Regions from separate parts of the Homo sapiens genome. Here regions 1 and 2 are each linked to region 3. Evidence: promoter capture Hi-C in human tissues and cell types (Jung and others, 2019). All regions are on one chromosome and are shown on one strand. The core of a region is centred on a gene start or on the middle of the fragment in contact, and the rest is flanking DNA. Distances in the headings are between cores, read along the strand shown. Region 1 overlaps LINC02911 (long intergenic non-protein coding RNA 2911). Region 2 overlaps LOC105371257 (a long non-coding RNA gene). Region 3 holds the start of AKTIP (AKT interacting protein).

Region 1 (4,341 bases), core at 705-3,204, 1.4 Mb before region 3:
CCTTAATTACCCTGCCAGGACCAAGAGAATCCTTGCAGTCTAGACTAATGACTCACATAAAGTAGGCACTCATTATATAGTGAATAAATGGTTGAATGACTGAGGAAATGTGAAAAGACATCTTAAAATGCTTTAGAAATGGTAAATTACTATGCAAATATTATATGTCATCCACAAAATCACTATTATTAAGCTGCTTTTATGATGAAAGTTGATACCTTTTTTCATTTATTTCTATGCCTTGTATTAATATTTGCTAAGTGAAAACATTGATCTAGGTTTTTGTCAATTGTTTTTCCTCTAAAGCCAAGCAGAAACTTCATCTTCCATCATGTGAACACCTTGTCCAATTGGCAAATATTGACAGTAAGAAAACATCATGTTGAAATTAGCCTTCTATTCTTGTATATTATTGAAAAATCAGAAGTACAAGACCATAGGCTGTAGAGGAGCTGTGTGCACCCACCTGTGTGTGTGTGTGTGTGTGTGTGTGTGTACGTTTGCCCAACATTTTCAAACATTTAGTTTTACTACATTTACTCTTTCTGACCCGGTACAATCTCAAACTGCATACAAGCAGCAGATGTCAGTGTTGTGCAACTTTCAGGCTGACTGCTTGCAGAGGCAAGCTGTTCTTTGTCGCCTAGAGACAGAATCAACAGTCATTTGTACCCACAAACAAACACCCTTAGGTGCTAGGTAAATCGTAGAGGTCCCCCATAAAGAAACTGTAATTTGAGAAATTACACAGCAACTTATAAAGATGTAGTTGTGATTCAAAGGTTGCAATGGATGGGCACAGCATAAATAGTGGAACCTATCGTGTTTTGCTGGCCGAGAAGGAGATAGGGACACCCAGAAAGCACTGGTTTGGCTCCTTTGTCACAACTGCTGTGAGCCAAAGCAAAGGAAGGTCAGACTAAATCGGCCTCGTTTGATGAAAGAACAGTGTTTTCTATTTGCAACCCATGTGGTCAGATGGCCAAACTCCTAATATGTCCTCAAAGCCCAACATAATCTGGTTTCTGACTGCTTCTATAGCTTTCTTGGGAGCCACTCTTTCTCCTTTTTCTCTGCTGCAGCCACTGCATTCTTCCCAGCTCACAGGCTCTGCTTGTAATGCTCTTGCCACATGCCCCTGTCTCTCCTTTAGTGTCTACTCTTCAGATCTCAGCTCAAATGTCCCTTTATCCTGAAAGGTCAGGCTCCATACATCAGGTCTTTCTTTTATGGTCTCATAGTACCCTTTAATGCCCCTCCATAGACTTATCACAATTTTCAATTATATATGTGTCTGATTCTTTAATTAGTATCTGTGTACCCAGCTCCAATAAAAGTGCCAATTCCATAAAGGTAGATTATGTGGCTGTTTTGCCCATTACTGTTTCCCTAGTACCTAGCATGGTACACGGCATATGGAAGATTCTCAACATATAAATGTTAAATAAAAAAAATGTTAAGAGGATGAATGAATGGATAAATAAGTAAATTGGTGAATGAACAAATACGTGAATTGATTCCATCTACTCTTCCACTGAATAGACATCCATGTACCAGTGAGCGAATACAAGGTAGGCTGGCTTAAGAAGAGGAGAGTATCTCAAATACCTGGATATAGAGTGATCACTGTTGTTCCAGGATTCTGAGAATAACTCAGCAGGTTGAGAGACTGACCTGCACAAATGGATTCTGACTTGGGCCTACATTCTGGTGGCAGAGTTCGAGTTCTCCCCTGCAGCAATGAATTTCTGTCTAGCACTTCTGAATGCAACCATCACATACTGGTCTCCTATCAGTAAAGAAAGGGGATCAGGTTGCAAATATGTGAGGAATACAGGCCTTTCTTCAGAATCGTGTATTTGGGATGTATCATGTGACAGAGAAGAGCTTATAGACAAAGATAAAGAGAGATAAATGGGTTGATTTTTTTCTTCTAGGGTATACACCCAAAGGGGAGAATAATCTAGCTATTTTTCCTTCTTCCACAAGATGGGGCAATCGGAATGAATTTAACTACAAAGGCGGACTCACCAGTAAATGTCTTTTCCATGTTAAACAGCCCTATTCGGTCAGACCAGAAAAATGCAGCTGGTTTTGAACTTGTTTATGCAACTGTGTAGCATTTCCTGAAAATGGTAGACCTGGGGTAGACAACAGTTAGGCTGGAGGGGAAAGCCTAGGGCACTTGCCCACTCTATATTGGAGTCAAAGGGTGCTGCCCAGCTTCCAGAACCCCCAGCATTCCAGCCCCAGGGAGTTGCAAGGGTCTCTGGCTCAGAAACAGCTGCTGCAAAATTGAGCAAATTTACCATTCAGAAACATTTTCTTACATTAGAAGGAAATTCTAGATGAGATATAATGATGTCTACTTTGAAATAAATTATTGTAATATAATCAATCACAGTGTACAAATTCTAATTCTTAATATTAGTCTGCTGCTTACAGTCTGCAAGATGATTTCATTCAGTGGAATATTCCACAATGCATTAAATCAGGCCGCACATAAAATAATTATGACACTAGAGTTTTATTATTCTACCTATGACCTATGTGCACATAACCCTTCTTGCTTCTTCCTGGTTATAGGTCTATTACTAGATCATTATAAATTTTTCTTTGGAAAGAAATTAGTGGAAATGGGCTTGACAACAATTTCTAGATTAAATTAGCACTGTTCAGAAAGATAATTAATATTGGTATGGTACTTTTTTGATCATTGTCTCATTTGATTTTCCCGACAATCTGTAGGCTAAATATTACTTTCATCATCACTCTTTCACAAATATATGACATGGGATATTTACTTATTCAAGTGTCAATATGGGATATTTATTTACTTAAGTAGGCACAGCAGGTAAAACCTGGAGATAGCCATGAACATGGCCTTCAGGTTCCAGTTCTGACAGGTCATGGAAGAGAGTAGGGAAAAGAGAGAAATTAGAGAAGGGAACTAGCACATGCTTTTATGAGGGCTAAATACACATTGTATAAGGTAGGAAACCCAGCCAAAGTGGCTTAAACCTCAAAAATAATGGATTGGCTCCCATAATAGAAAAATCCAGAAGTTCTAGTTCCAAAAGATGTCATCATGGATCTAGTCCTTGAGGACAGCTAGTTTCACCTGATATTTTCAGTTCATCCAGGTTATTTCCTTGTGGTAACAAAATAATCTAAGCAGGTTCGTGTCTCATAGGGTCCCACTGAACCACATTGTTCTGGGGAAAAGAGTGTCTCTTCCTGAAGTTCTCTCACCTGTGACTCACCCTGTCATTGGCTCAAACGGGGTTAAAGGTCCATTCCTGAACCAATCTCAGCTGGGAAGATAGGCATGACTTATCGTCTTAACCCAATCAGAATTCCTACGCTGAAGCCAATTGCACTCAAACTTTCCTTGCTAACAGTGGGAGAGCTGTACATTATACAAAAAGAAAGCCAGGAGAAGGAGAAAATGGAGAAATCATAAAATATATCTACATTTTTTGGAGTTTAACAAATTAGAAAACATTGTCTCTTTTAATATATAAAAATTTATAAGAGTACTAGAACAATCCTGGTTGATACACAATTATTTTTTAAAAGCAATAAACCATTGTAAAATGTTCTGAAGAAGGCCTTAAGCATTAGCTTTAGAAAACTTAAAAACTAAATTTATAGATATTACACTAGCAACACCTGATGCCTAAAAAGCAGAGGATTGCTCAGTAACCCTGGAGAATTCAGACATTTAGAGCAGGCAAGTGTTAAGAGGTGGGAAAAAATACCAAAAACAAAAACATCCACTTAGGTTGAAAACTTGCTAGGTCCTTTATATAAACATCTTCAAGAAGTACTATCCAATGAAACCTCCAAGGGCACTCTGTCTCCTCAACCACTAATTTTTTCAAGCACCTCTGTCCTCATTACTACAAGCGTTTGGAGTGATAAGACCTCCCTATCTCACAGGGTTTTGTGACAAATAAAGGCAAGAATGTGCATAAAAGGCTTTGTTAATGTAAATGCTCACAAATGTAAGAATTATATTGATGAGAATTTTATGTATAGTTTTTAAGATGCTGTAGAAAAAAAAGACATACCTACCAAAAAACAGGTTCTACATTGACCTTAACAAAATAAATGGATGTCAGTTACATATAGCTCGCTTGCACCAACCTCCCATTTTCCCACTTCATCAATCTCAACTCTCTCAGATCTTCGCCTAATGCACTCCACATAGTACACTCTGAACTTTTTGCACAACCCAGATGGTATACATGGATCCATATGCCTGTTTTCAAGATTGGCTAATTGGCCTCATTTGCACAATAAACTATTAAGAACTCTCTAATAAAAGTCGACAATGTT
Region 2 (4,208 bases), core at 1,226-3,725, 1.7 Mb before region 3:
GTCAGGCTAGTTTGGGGAAATCTAAATCTACCCCAGACTAGGTAGTTTCAATGATCATTATCCCTATTCTCTGTTGTTTGCTATAAAGCGGAGATCTAAAAAGACTTGTCCAGGTGGTACACGTAGGAGGTATGTGGAGTGTGGATGTGTGTTTGCCTATGGGGGACACGTGATCATATATACTAGTCCTTCTTCGCCAGGGACAGACCTCAAAATTGGGCAGGTGGCCTTGATGCTTCCTCCAGATTTATCAGGCCACTAGCAAGGGCCACGTTGGTTGGTTTCACTTTGAGTCATGTCAGCTCTAGGGAGGCTCCTTGCCCGCTGTGGGGGCTTCCTGCCGCTGATATGCTGGGCACAGAAGTGAGCAGATACTCCATGGACTGGTACCGATACATTGTAATGCACACACACAGGACTGCTGTTTTGTGTGCATGTGTATTTTTTGTGTGTGTGGTTTTTATTTTTGGCATATGTGAAAGAGTTTCTGCAAAACTGATTTCACAGAGCAATAAGTCACCTAAGAGGGTGTCACCAGCCATTTAAAGTGCACTACTGAGGTTTTTAACGTAATAAATATATTCGAAAGGTAGTGTGTCACGGCCCGGAGCCTGGACTCTAGCTCCATTTAGCTCCGACAGCCTTGTTTTTACTGCCCCTTAGCGCCTCACTTTTAAAGTGACAGGAAACTAATTTCTGATTACAAATCAATGGGTTAGGGTGTCACCTCCGGACAGTGAATTTAGCTGTAAATCCAAGGAGTCACTCATGAGCCTAGGAAATTGGGGGTCAACACAGAAAGGCAATTGCTTTATACAATGAAAATGGAAATACATTTGCGAATACAGCTCTTCAGAACTCGGTCTCTGGGGAAGGCCCAGGTAGCTCCAGCCTGCCACTCAGTCCCTCCTAACAGGCCCAGGGCCCAGCAGGATGGGTTTTCCAAGTGCCTCCAATGTGGCCGCAAAATTTCATTTTGCTGTAGAGGCAGCAGACTTTCCCCAGGCTGAGGCCTGAGTGAGGTCTCTTTCTCCCCGGACTACGCCGCGCCTTGGCCACATCATGTTAACCAAAACTATCTATGCTCCTGTCATGTAAGATACCTTTTGATGAGGCCCCTTTTTTCTTTAAGCTTTTAAGATAATCTTAGAGAAATCATCAAGCTATAAAAAGAAATCAATGAAAACAGAAAAGGTTCCCATCACCCCGAAAAAAATCCATAACTTTTGCATTTTAATAGAGACGCTACAGGACCAGACCCGTCATTTTCTTTCTGATGTGTTCCTTTGATTTCCCGCGCATCTCACAGGGCTCTTGACTTTCTTGAGAAAGGGATTATTGAATTGTGTGTCTCCCTCAGATGTACTTGATCACTCAAGTATCTGTACTTAAGAATGTTAGAGTCTGTTCAGCTGTTGCCTCTTTGGGAGCTCATCGGGGCTTGTCATCTTAATATTAATTGGGTTTTGTGCAGGAATCTCAAGTCCCACATTGAGTGGCTTTCAAGAGAGAAGATTATGCCTAAAGCCAGATACAAAGACAAACATATTTAGCACAACAATTATGATAATTGCAGAAACATTCTGTCATGAAATAAGCAAATCTGATTAAGAGCCCTTCTACATTAACAAATATTAATCTGATGTCTTCGGTCTAACCTGGTTTGAACATAAGAGGCTTCTTATGGTTTTATGTATTAACAGATTTGTAGAAGCTGAACATATAGAGCCTAATAGTATGAGACAGCCAAGCCAGGATAGTAAAAGGATCTTTGCTGAATGTAATCCACTTAAATTTAAAATAGACACAGATAGGATCATAAACCTCAAATCAAAATTAAAATGCACCCTGCCAATGAGACTTTTCCTATCATTCCAACCACATGGTAATTCAGAAACATATCATGGAAAGCATTATTAGTGGTCTTTTTTGTTAGAAAAAAAAATGAGGTCAATATCTTTATGGTAAGTCATCACAATAAAACGGACAGTCACTTGAAACTTTCCAGACATTCAACCTGGTTGGATATTGGAAGCAGTGATATTCTTGCCAAGCCAGAGAGTTAATTTTATTTGTAATTTTCAGCTGCTTTCAGTTTAATTGCACAATTTCCTTAATTATTAAAGTTCATTCTGCATACTTAAGTTCATTAGCTATTGTCAAATGGGCAAATTACTTTGCAATTTTAATATTTGTTGGACAAAGCTGTGTTAATAGATTCACCTCTCCAAACACAGTTTTCTGTTTTTGTTACAGTATCCATCAATAATTGTAACCCTCCAAATCAGGAGGCAGAAACTGTATCATTTTTTCCTCTTTTTATGAATATCTCTTAAATGTTAGTGATTTTAAGCACACAGGTAGGCTTTTTTGTTTGTTTACTTGGGAAGGAGGGAAACTGGGGAAAGCAGCAGCTCTAATGACAGGCTTTGAGTCTTGCATAAATACATATGAAAACGTATATATGATAGTGAAACTTCTCAATATGTGTATGCAATTTGCATATGTCTGATACAGTCATATGCACATAATATAAACCTATAAAAACACAACATGGACTTGTGAATAATCAATAAATCAAATTTTCAATCAGGTTTTTGAGTCATTAGGCTATGTATGGTATGATACTATATGTTATACGATGTATATATACCTATGTGTGTACTTCTGTAAGTACATATTTATGTATATTTTAATTTTTCCGGTGATACATTCCATGGTATATGTGACTGCTGGCATCAGAAAGGCAATCTCTCTCTCTTCCTCTCTCTCTCTCTCTCTCGCACACACACACACACACACACACTCACACACATTCAACATGGAGCTATTTAATGCTTGTGTCTGTAGACTATATTTAAATACACATCCATGCTCTTGTAACAAAAATGTCACTTTCTATTTGGCCCCTTGCAGTTATGACACACCTTTGCCCCCATTATCTCATTTGACTCATGGATATACACTTGTTTCCTCCTGTAGATGCAGTTTACCACCCCATCTTCCAGGTAAAGTGATTCCTGAAATGTATCAGCACCTCTAACGTGAAAACAAATGCAGCCCAATCTGCTGCTGTCTGTGTCTGCCCTTGTGCTCACAGACCCACTCCAAAATGTCTGGGTGCAGATAGGTCCAGACCTGGAGGACAGAATCCCTGCCAGCATGGCTTATCTCCCCAGTAATTAGGCTTGTGTTTCTGCTTTATTAACTCCAATACAACAGCACCCTGCCCTCTGTCACCAGGGGGACTAATAGATGATAGTCGGCTCTGATTTGGAAACCATACAAATTAAATGACGAAGTGAGAGGAAGTGAAGTTGAGGCAAATTGTGTCAAGATAAGGCGGTCAGTCATTTACATAGGAGTTTTTCAAATGTTAAGCAGGGAGCTTTTGATTTTACATCTGCAGATGCAAAACTGCTAAAATAAATAAGCCCAGTTTCCTTGCTGTGTTTGTTAAACCTCAACAATATGTGAATTCTTAAATGATGTTAGGAATAATTGATTGTGGATGTTTATAACCAGGGTAACTTTTCTTCTCCTGAAGTCCCCACATTTTATTGCTTTTCCTGAGAAAGATTTTCTTCTATTAAACATAGATGTGAATCCATGTGTTTATTTTCCCAGGAGCATTGCAACAGGTCTCCATCTTCATCACCTATAGGGCAGATTTGCTTTTACATTTTTAAAACTCATGTCCTACCTCTCTAGGAGAAACAATCAAACATCTTCTGGAAGATTAAAATTACCCACGGAAAGAAAATAAAATTGAATGATGGAAAGAAAAGAAAAAGAGGCTGTCCAGCAAAGCTGATTTCCATCAGTCAGCTGCGGGAGCTGTAACAATTTGTTTAGCAATATGATTTAACAAGAAGCATTAGCTCCGGGTATGTAGCTGCCGGGTTTTGAGAAGGCTGATGAGATGTGATTATCTCCAAGCAGAAATATCAGGGTGGTTAAAAGATAATTTGAAATGAGGTTAAAAATGAAGCGACACTAAGCTTCTCTCACTTGTGTCAAAACAATCCCATCTTTTCTTTTCTTTTCTTTTTTTCCCCTTTCACTTTGATGACATTTGCTCATATTGGAGGTGGAGACATTTCTCATAGCAAACTGTAATCCTTGACTAATTTTAAATTTAATGTGGCTCTGTTTGAAAGACAGCTCTAAATTTTGATCCAAAATCAACTTCTGGATATTACAGAAAG
Region 3 (3,777 bases), core at 982-3,481:
TAACTAACAGGAAAGCCAGACTCAGAATGCACTGTACCCACATACACATAAGTTGTATCACTGTTCCCAGGGTTATGGGAACAAACAATAGATACAAGGAGGCTGATTTAAGCGCTGCCTCAACTCACCTGAGTACAAAATGATTCCTCCAGCAAAGTATTAGCCAAAGAAATAAGAGAAAACAGGAAGGCACAGCACAAGTATGTCACTAAGACGACAAAAGTAGTTACCTGAGTCCTGTCAGTACCATCCCCCAATAAACTGCCTTCTACAACTTCGAAACATATAGAAACTGCAGGATCATGTACTTAAGGAACTGCCAAGCAATCCAGACAAATGCAACACAGGCACGCAAGAGAGACATTTCACAAGTACAGATCTTCCAGCCGAAGCTTCAAGTCGTGGATAAGAAAGCATGTCTCAAAGGTCATAAAGTCAGTGGGTCATTTACTAAAAATACAAAGAAGCAAAGGAAAAGCAGCCAAGCCCAGCTGTAAGAACAGCAACTTCCCTGCCCTGGTATTTCCCCCCAGGCTCTGTTACCTTTAAAGCAGAGCTCCTTCTCTGAATTCCTACTTGCACCAATCAAACGGCTGAAGGTGAAAAGGGTCAAAACTAAGCAACGTTTTCCTAATTTCTTAAACAGATCATGAGCAAACCATGTACTAAATGTCCCCAATCAGCAATAATTTGTCTTCTCTGACGAGCTTGTGACATCCAGGGACGTACCCAACCCAGGTCATCCATACCTTGCCAGTGCCCATTACTGCTGTTTTGTTTTCCAAGAGAAAATGCCACCCAGTAATTAAATCAGAGGAATGAAGATCCTGGCTCTTCTACTAGCATGGATAACATGCAATAAGTAACAACAGTTCTCCGCAAATCTGCCTTTAAAGGTGAGTATGACACACTGAATATACTTGAGATATCAAAAATGTGCGGGGGCATGTTCCCCTTTGGCTCAAATGAAGACACTGATTTTCAGATCTAGCAGTAATGTGCAGCACCCCAGTGTCCTCTAGGACACACCTAACACGGGACCGGATCCCTTGGGACACAGTGGTGTGCTCCACAACATACATTTAATGGGCTGGTGCAAACCTGTAAAGTCTCTTAAAGGTCTAACGCGTTAGGATTCTCTTTAAGAATCCAGTAAATTTTGTCCCCAGTTCTGCCTGTCATTAAGCAGGAGGTATTGTCTTCTGCTGCCTAACTTTGCTATGGATCTTTTAATCCAATGTTTCCAGCAGCAACATAATCACGAGAAACTGTAGCACACTTTTCAGGGTCTAGTCTAGGACAAGCACAGCATACATGTTCTGAGAGGAATGACATAGATGGAAGCAAGACATGTTACATCCTTGTCACTTGGAAACAATTTTAGAATTTCTGCCTGTTTGGCCACGGCTGCATTCCTTTACATCACCCAGCTGAGAAGTCTGGGTCTTCAGCCTGCGCGAATGACAGTGCGTGGCAGAGCTAAAACTAGGCTAAAACATGAGTGCTGCTGTTACTCTACATGCCACAGCGCACTCACATCACCCCGAATCGGACTTAAGAAATTACACGTTAAGAGGAGACAGAGCAGGGGCCAGAAAAAAAAAGATGAAAACGGCCCGGGCCAGGCTCGCTGGGGACAGCCGGGACCCGCGGCGGCCTCGGACCGGCACCCTCACCGCGGGCGGAAACCCGTCTCTGAGCACTCAGGGAATCTGGACAAACCTGTCTCGAGGTGATGCAAGGCGGGGGCCCTGTCCTGGCCTCGCAGCTAGCTCGATGCTGGCCCGGGAGCCGCGGGCCCCTCCAGTGGGGGGGCTCTGGGGCCCGGCGACGCCCCCTTAACCAGAGCTCGGGGTCGGGACCCGGCCGGGGAGGGCGGGCACGGGCCGGGGCGAGCCAGCTGGGCCCCCCTCTCCCTCGGGCCGGGCCAGCCCAGCTCCAGCCGCAGTCCCCAGCAGCAGTCCCGGGCTGCGAGGCGGCCAGCGCAGCAGGTGCCTGCAAACGCGCACAGGTGCCCGGCCCCGCCTCCGTGTCCCACTGCGGCCGCCGTCGCCGAGTCGCGAGCGCCTAGAAAGATGGACAAATGCCGGGCCCGTGGAGGCTGGCGGCCAGATTTACAGACACCTCAGCCCTCGCGTACCCACCAGCCTGCCGGGCAGTAAGCCTCACCCCAGTGCCTTCAATGCAGAGCTCCTGGCTGCCAAGCGCCGCCGCGGCCCGACAGCATCTCCCGCCGCAGCGCCAGCCCTGCCCCTGCTTGATCCCCGCCCCGCCCCACCCCGCCCTGCCCTGCCCTGCCCTGCCCTCGGCAGCGGGCTCCGCCCCCTGCTGCACGATCCTGGGGCCCGAGGCTTCCGCCTGGCCTCCCGGCGCCAACTGGCTCTCACACCTGCCCGTCAAAGACGTTCTTCCGGGGGCGTTGGGAAGAACACACTCGGTCCTGCAAATCAAATCACCCCGGTTTGGGTGGGACTGCACTTGACCCTCCCCTTACGTAACAGCGCCTGGGACGGCCTGTCAGTCATGGAAGTATCGGCCCCCCGGGGAGGGATGGGGCAGAGACAAACAAGCGCCGGGTCACAATTGGCCAGGGCGTCTGCCAGTCACCACGGAGACCTTCCCGGAGGTTTATTCGCACAGCCCACAGCGCAACCGCCATGCGCAGGGGCTGGGGCATACGCTAACGTCTGCAAGCCAAGCTTTTGGGGAGGGCCGGGCCGCGCGACTGCCCAGTGGCTCCCATCGCTAGGTCCTACTGCGTTGGGCGGCGCTGCGAGGCCCGAGGCCGCCACGTCGGGCCCACAGGGTACCAGGGGTCAGAAGGACACTTGGCGTGGCATCAAGAAACGCCCGTTCTCTCCATCAGTGCAGGAGCTGAAGGCTGGAGCTGAAGGGAGCTCAGCTCCAAGTGGGCCCTGGGCACTAGAGCAGCCAGAGGAGCTTTGTAAATCTGTGTGTGTCGGCCCCGACCTGCAGCATCCGAGTGGGGGCCGGGGGCTGGGGGGAGGGGGGAGGCTGAGGACCAGGAATCCACATCTGTCACAGTTCGCTGCTGATTCTGGCGCACACTGAAGTTGGAGAACCTCTCCCATAGCAACATAGTTCCTGGTCTTTTTTTTTTTTTTTTTTTTTAATTCACACGCTCTCATTTGGACCTCCCGTCTGCTTTCCCATGGAGGTCTCTCTCTGGCCTAATTCTGTGACTGCTGCCAGCTGCTTTCCAGGCCTGTTCTTACCAACGGTGCCTCCCCGTGGTTAGTCCGTCCAATCTCGGCACTCCACTTCCACACTTGCGCGACAGCCCTCTCCCCGCAAGCCCCTGCCCCTTTTCTAGACACCAGAGGCACTGACCTGTCTGTGACACCGCCTCAGTGTCTTACACTCAGAAGCCGCATTCTCTGGCCGGGTTGTTTGGTCCATTTTTGGTTGCCTCTGAGATTCTGGTAAGTGACTTATTAAAGGGCAGGAAGCCAAATTCTCCTGATGTTAATCCCAAGGGTTGGTTCTGAAACCCAGCTTCCTCCCCTAGCTGAAAACACTTCTGAGCCACTTCCTTTTGTCCCCTTAGGACACATTTAGGAATGTTATCATGCCTTTTAATACGAGTCTTAATACAGAAAGGCAGGCAAGCAGGAAATCCTTTTTTCAGGCCACAGGTGGTCTCCTTTGGCACCTCTGTGGCCCATTTCCTCCCAATCTTCTTTGAAGCTCATTATCCTCTGCAAAGCTTTTTTTCTGCTTTCCTCCTTTCCCCAACCTTCAGTTTTCACCGAGGAC

Evidence for each region. The method cuts DNA at HindIII sites, captures the fragments that hold promoters and counts their contacts. A contact is called where the count stands out against the background at its distance.
Region 1: a fragment that was not itself captured here is called in contact with the fragment with the promoter of AKTIP in region 3 in 1 of the 25 tissues and cell types used here (dorsolateral prefrontal cortex).
Region 2: a fragment that was not itself captured here is called in contact with the fragment with the promoter of AKTIP in region 3 in 1 of the 25 tissues and cell types used here (dorsolateral prefrontal cortex).

The regions. Positions count from the first base shown.
Region 1 is chr16:52,068,013-52,072,353 of GRCh38, forward strand. The region is part of intron 2 of LINC02911 (long intergenic non-protein coding RNA 2911); the gene reads right to left. Among named protein-coding and RNA genes, the nearest start is that of LINC02911, 7.3 kb to the right of the region's middle. The HindIII fragment of the contact is 7,804 bases long and covers 1-4,341 here.
Region 2 is chr16:51,756,336-51,760,543 of GRCh38, forward strand. The region is part of intron 3 of LOC105371257 (a long non-coding RNA gene); the gene reads right to left. Among named protein-coding and RNA genes, the nearest start is that of LINC01571, 4.1 kb to the right of the region's middle. The HindIII fragment of the contact is 4,196 bases long and covers 378-4,208 here.
Region 3 is chr16:53,500,978-53,504,754 of GRCh38, forward strand. AKTIP (AKT interacting protein) reads right to left here and starts at 2,232. Exons shown (of 10, transcript NM_022476.4): 1 at 2,170-2,232. LOC124903690 (a long non-coding RNA gene) reads left to right here and starts at 3,403. Exons shown (of 2, transcript XR_007065069.1): 1 at 3,403-3,443; 2 at 3,764-3,777. RefSeq lists enhancers at 1,428-1,929, 1,930-2,429, 2,890-2,989 and silencers at 1,700-1,999, 2,260-2,329, 2,350-2,589, 3,310-3,399. The HindIII fragment of the contact is 2,688 bases long and covers 1,546-3,777 here.